2 separate regions of the Homo sapiens genome follow, and region 2 is linked to region 1. The links are contacts of gene promoters, found by promoter capture Hi-C in blood cells and fetal thymus (Javierre and others, 2016). All regions are on one chromosome and are shown on one strand. Each heading gives the region's core, a stretch centred on a gene start or on the middle of the fragment in contact. The rest is flanking DNA. Distances are from core to core; before and after follow the strand shown. Region 1 holds the start of UBA2 (ubiquitin like modifier activating enzyme 2). Region 2 overlaps LSM14A (LSM14A mRNA processing body assembly factor).

The links. The method cuts DNA at HindIII sites, captures the fragments that hold promoters and counts their contacts. A CHiCAGO score of 5 or more calls a contact.
Region 2: a contact is called between a fragment that was not itself captured here and the fragment with the promoter of UBA2 in region 1, in 1 of 17 cell types (naive CD4 T cells). The highest score is 5.1, in naive CD4 T cells.

Annotation. Positions count from the first base shown.
Region 1 is chr19:34,426,782-34,429,702 of GRCh38, forward strand. UBA2 (ubiquitin like modifier activating enzyme 2) reads left to right here and starts at 1,600. Exons shown (of 17, transcript NM_005499.3): 1 at 1,600-1,789. The coding sequence starts at 1,652. It overlaps LOC124904695 (a long non-coding RNA gene), which reads right to left and starts at 1,583. Exons shown (of 2, transcript XR_007067232.1): 1 at 1,341-1,583. RefSeq lists silencers at 1,488-1,727, 1,758-1,867, 1,938-2,097. The HindIII fragment of the contact is 4,339 bases long and covers 486-2,921 here.
Region 2 is chr19:34,192,100-34,195,007 of GRCh38, forward strand. It overlaps LSM14A (LSM14A mRNA processing body assembly factor), which reads left to right. Exons shown (of 10, transcript NM_015578.4): 2 at 2,379-2,542. Among named protein-coding and RNA genes, the nearest start is that of LSM14A, 21 kb to the left of the region's middle. The HindIII fragment of the contact is 3,862 bases long and covers 1-2,908 here.

The DNA of each region.
Region 1 (2,921 bases), core at 350-2,849:
CATGCTCTGCCTACGTAGATGAGGATAATGAGGCCTAGGTGATCATGGGGTGGGCTTGTTTCTTGCATTTAACATTATATTTGGAGCATTTTCCCATTAATATTTTTCCCACAACATAATTTATAATTGCTCTATTTTTTAAATATACATCAAAAGCTTTATACAATTTTTAGCCACTTGTATTTTCCAATTTTTATTCCCATGATGGCCATCCCTGTAACTAAATTTATATATATTTTAAATCAATGATAACTGCTACAGGACAGTTTCCTAGAATTGGAATGAATGAGTCAAAAGTTGTGCACAATTTTAGGGTTTTTTTTTCTTTTTTTTCGAGACAGGGTCTTGCTCTGTCTCTCAGGCTGGAGTGCAGTGGTAAGGGCATAGCTCACTGCAGCCTCGACCTCTCAGGCTTAAGTGATCCTCCTGCCTCAGCCTCCTGAGTAGCTGGGACTACAGGTGCAAGCCACCACGCCCTCTAGAGAAGCTTTGCTTTGGAATCTTTACCTGGAGTGTGTTGGAGTGCTTGTTTCCCAATCCCTTGATAAGTGTTACTTATTTTTTCTTTCTACCAGTTTAGTAGGTGAAAAACTTTTTTTTTTTTTTGAGACAGAGTCTCGCTGTATTGCTCAGGCTGGAGTGCAGTGGTGCAACCTCCGCCTCCTGGGTTCAAGCAATTCTCCTGCCTCAGCCTCCTGAGTAGCTGGGGCTACAGGCTTGTGCCACCACCCCCAGCTGTTTCGGTGTTTTTTTTTGTTTGTTTGTTTGTTTGTTTTTTTGAGACGGAGTCTGTTGCCCAGGCTGGAGTGCAGTGGCGCGATCTCGGCTCACTGCAACCTCTGCCTCCTGGGTTCAAACGATTCTCCTGCCTCAGCCTCCCGAGTAGCTGGGATTACAGGCGCACGCCACCACGCCCGGCTAATTTTTGTATTTTTAGTAGAGATGGGGGTTTCACCATGTTAGTCAGGCTGGTTTCAGAACTCCTGACCTCGTGATCCACCCGCCTCGGCCTCCCAAAGTGCTGGGATTACAGGCGTAAGCCACCGCGCCCGGCAGGTGAAAATCTTACCATTTTGCATGGTTTACATTTTTTTCTTTTTTGAGACGGAGTCTTGCTCTGTTACCCAGCCTGGAGTGAAGTGGTGCGATCTTGGTTCACTGCAACCTCCACCTCCAGGGTTCAAGCGATTCTTTTATGGTTTACATTTTAATACGCTTATTGATCATATTGTCCAATTTTTTGTGAGTTTCCTGTTCACATCCTTTGCCTATATTTTTTTGGGGGTGACACTTGTTAATTTGTAAGAGCTCTTTACGTATAGGGACATCAGTTTTCTAACCTGTAAGGAAGTCTTGGCTGGGAGTTGAAACCCCAGGCTAGAAGGCGACCCTTAGACTTTTTAGGTCTGATGGCGGGCCTATGCTGGTGTGGGAATAACACCGCCGGTCTCAGCTGGAGGTCGCCAGCCCTTTGCAAGAGCCTGCCGGTCCCCGCGGGCTGCAGCACACCCCGGCGCGATGTGCCCTGCCTGTGTCTGCCGGAGGCTGTAGTGCGCAGGAGCGGAAACCAGGCCGCCCTTCCCCCACCCGCTTCCGGCCGCGGCTCGGTTCTCCCGCCTCCGCCTCCGCCGCGGCTCGTGGTTGTCCCGCCATGGCACTGTCGCGGGGGCTGCCCCGGGAGCTGGCTGAGGCGGTGGCCGGGGGCCGGGTGCTGGTGGTGGGGGCGGGCGGCATCGGCTGCGAGCTCCTCAAGAATCTCGTGCTCACCGGTTTCTCCCACATCGACCTGGTGAGGGCCGGGCGCGCGCGCGTGAATGGCGGGCTGTGGTGCGGGGGCTGGGATTCGGGGGTTCCGGGGCTCCAGGGGCTCTGAGGCTCAGGGCCCGGAGCCCGGGACCGGAGTTGCGGAGCGGGGGCAGGCTGAGAGGCTCGGGTTGTGCCCCCCCCGCGGGAGGAGACTGTTCTTTGGGCACGGGGCGGGCCTCCGCTCGCTGGGCCGGCTCCGGACGCCGAGGAGGCCGCGGGCCCCCGCCTCCCCGGCAGCGCCAATGTGTGGCGCTTCGTGGGCGTGAAGCCGCCTCTTATCCTCCCTTCAAAACAAATTCCCGGCTGTTAGGAGATGCGGGAGAGGATTGAGTCCCTCGCGGATGTTGTGACTTTAATTTTGAGGTCCCTGTCGTAACTCCGAAGTAACGACGCGGGGCGGAGGATGGCAATGATAGCGACCAACGCGTCCCGAGCGCTGGTCACGAGCGGGTTTACACACGGAACGCGCACCATCTTCATACCACCCGAGGAGTGCAAACGCTATTTCCACCCTGCTTTATTTTTAACAGATGAGGAAAGGGAGACGCAATGGGGTTGAGTAACTTACCCTGGGTCACGGAGCGAGTGGCAGGGCTCCCGCAGGCTGCGTGACTGTCATTGCTCTCACAGTAGACGGTACACTCGCTTGTTTCATTAAAGACGTTAGGACTGTGCCTTTTGCATTGGTGTACGTTGACAAGCCAGTGCTATTTTGAATCGTTATTTCTACTAATGCAAACTTTTTAGAGATTGGAGATGTTACTGGCCCTTCGGTGTGAGTTTAAAGTGTCTTAAGGGCTAGTGGAAACATGGAATGAACAAAAAAGTACGGGTGGCCGACTGAGTCATTGTTTCTTTCCTTTATGTATTATATATTTAAGCAAAAATTAGATAAAACTTAAAACATGATACTTTTTTAACCATGTGTAAAAGTTTCCTTTCACAGTTCTCAGGTTAATAGTAAATGAAATTGTGTATGGATGAAGGCTTGAATTAAGGGAGGCAGCAAAAATTCAATAAACGTTTGCCATGTATCATTTAAGAAAAAGAACAGAACCTGGGCAACATAGAGAAACCCCGTCTCTACAAAAAAAGAAAATTAGCGGGGCGTGGTG
Region 2 (2,908 bases), core at 277-2,776, 230 kb before region 1:
ATACTATTTAATAAAATTTCGTGGTATGAGTTTGAGAACTTGTCATGATTTTAGGGATATTTTAACTTCCTTTTTGTTTCTTTCCTTTAGTTTTAGGGAAGGATCTTCTGCCAAACTACCTGTGCCACTGTCTTTCCTGGAAGTCTCATAAGTACTAGAAAGAACTTTTAGAATAAGAGTGTAGGACATTATTTACACTGAAATAACATTCTTTTTGTTGTTTTTTTTTTTTTTTTTTTTTTTGGAGTCAGATTGTCATTCTGTCACCCAGGCTGGAGTGCAGGAGCGCCATCTTGGCTCACTGCAACTTCTGCCTCTTGAGTTCAGCCAATCCTCCCGCCTCAGCCACCTGAGCAGCTAGGACTACAGGTGCATGCCAACATGCCCAGCTAATGATTTTTTGTATTTTTAGTAGAGATGGGGTTTCACCATTTTGTTGAGGCCGGTGTCAAACTCCTGACCTCAAGTGATCTGCCCACCTTGGCCTCCCAAAGTGCTGGGATTGCAGGCATGAGGCGCTGCATCAGTTCTGCAAAAAAAAAAAAAAAAAAAAAAAAAAAAAAAAAAAGCGTATGCATTAAAAATACTAAGGGGGCCAGGCGCGGTAGCTCACGCCTGTGATGCCAGCACTTTGGGAAGCCGAAGCGGATGGATCACTTGAGGTCAGGAGTTCTAGACCAGTCTGGCCAACATAGTGAAACCCCATCTCCGCTAAAAAAAAATACAAAAATTAGCTGCGCATGGTGGCACACGCCTGTAATCCCAGCTGCTCAGGAGGCTGAGGCAGGAGAGTCGCTTGAACCCAAGAGGCAGAGGTTACAGTGAGCCAAGATTGCGTCACTGCACTCCAGCTGGGGCAACAGAATGAAACTCCATCTCAAAAAAAAAGAAAAAAAATAGAAATGTTAAGGGGTTTACTTCCTTTAGGGTACTCTTTAAATGAAATATGATGTTTCATATTCTCTATTTGGAACTTCTGTATGGATGCAGACATTTTCAGAAATCTCCCAGGACAATGAACCTGAAACTTATGTATTTATAAGAAACTTGGGGATTTGGTTATTTTATTTACTTATTTTGAAATAGGGTCTTGCTGTGTCACCCAGGCTGCAGTGCAGCCACGCTTCAGTACAGCCTCAATCTCCCAGGCTCAAGCGATCCTCATACCTCAGCCTCCTTATAGCTGGGACTACAGGCATGCACTACCACACCTGGCTAATTTTTAAAAATGTTTATTTTTTTGTAGAGACAGAACATCACTGTGTTGCTAGGGCTGGTCTCAAACTCCTGGGCTCAAGCAGTCCTCCCACCTTGGCCTCCCATAGTGCTGGGATTACAGGCATGAGCCACTGTGCCTAGCCAGAAATTGGCTTAAAATGCAGATTTTTGGACCCTGTCCCCAGCAAAAAGATTCGGTAGAAATCTTTATTCGTAGCCAGTTTACTGTGTTGCAGGTGGTCCCCAGTTTAACTTTGAGTAATGCTGTCTTCATTGTTAAAATAATCAGATTTAATTATATGGTAGATATTTTAGGTAACTAGGGTATTTCAAGCTGTCCCATGGGGCTGAGTAGCTGGCAGCTGCTTGACTTGGCTTCTAGAGGACTTACTGCTCAGCAAGGTAAATGTTATTAATACCTTCATTGCTCTCTGTGTCCCAAAGGTCAATACCCAAACTTTGAGATTTTGTAGACTGGAGGAATCTTTGTCTCCCACTCCTTCCCCAAGAAAGACATGGGTTGCTAATTTTTATTTTGTCGAATGAGGACATTAAAAATAAGTTAACCGTGAGCCAGGCACAGTGGCTTAGGCCTTTCATCCCAGCACATTGAGAGGCTAAAGCAGGAAGATCACTTGAGGCCAGGAGTTCAAGACCAGCCTGTGCAAAATAGCAAGACCTCATCTCTACTAAAAAATAAAAAAAGTTAGCTGGGCTTAGTGGCACATGCCTGTGGTCCCAGCTACGTGGGAGGTTGAGATAGAAGGATCGCCTGAGCCCGGGAAGCTGAGGCTGCAGGAAGCCATGACCACACCACTGCACTCCAGCCTAGGGGACAGAGACCCAGTCTCATCAATAAATAAATAATGAAAGGACATTTTAACACCCCACTACAACCACTAAAGATACAAATAAATAAAAATATAAGAGGAACACAACCTCATAATACAGATAGTCTTTTATATTGCATATATTTAACTTCGGGCAAAAGCCACTCTATTTTCCTCTTTAAAAAAACTTTTTTAGCTATAGATTAATGAATACTTTCTCAGACATTTCAGAACTACTGCTTAGTACTTGAAATACAACATTTAGAATCTGGGGTACTACCTGAATGTGATGAGTAGTCACACATCTCATATCCTTTGTTTTCTTGCCAGTTCGATCCTTTGGTACAGAAGACAGACCGACAGATCGTCCAATACCACCTCGAGATGAAGTCTTTGAATACATTATATTCCGTGGGAGTGACATTAAAGACCTTACTGTTTGTGAGCCACCAAAACCACAGTGTTCTTTGCCTCAAGACCCAGCTATTGTTCAGGTAACTGATGGTAAATTTGTCTTGGAGTACAGGTAAACTCCGCACAGGGTTAGCCTTGGCTTTTTTCTCTCTAGTTGAATGTTCATGTAGCTTATCATTTCCAAGTTACTGGGATACCTGAAATTACTGGATAATGTTCTCATCTAGGTTTTTCTCTTTGTATCATAAATTAGAACTAAGGTAAGAAACAGCTGAGGAATTTATTATGAAATATTTTCTAATTTCAACAACAATTACCATAGCTAACATTGAAGGCTACTCTGTAGAAGTGCTGTGCATATAAGATACCCTCTGAGGTTGGTACTATAATTATTCTCACTTTTAACAAGTGAGGAAGTTCAGATGGAGCCACAATTTGAACAGATC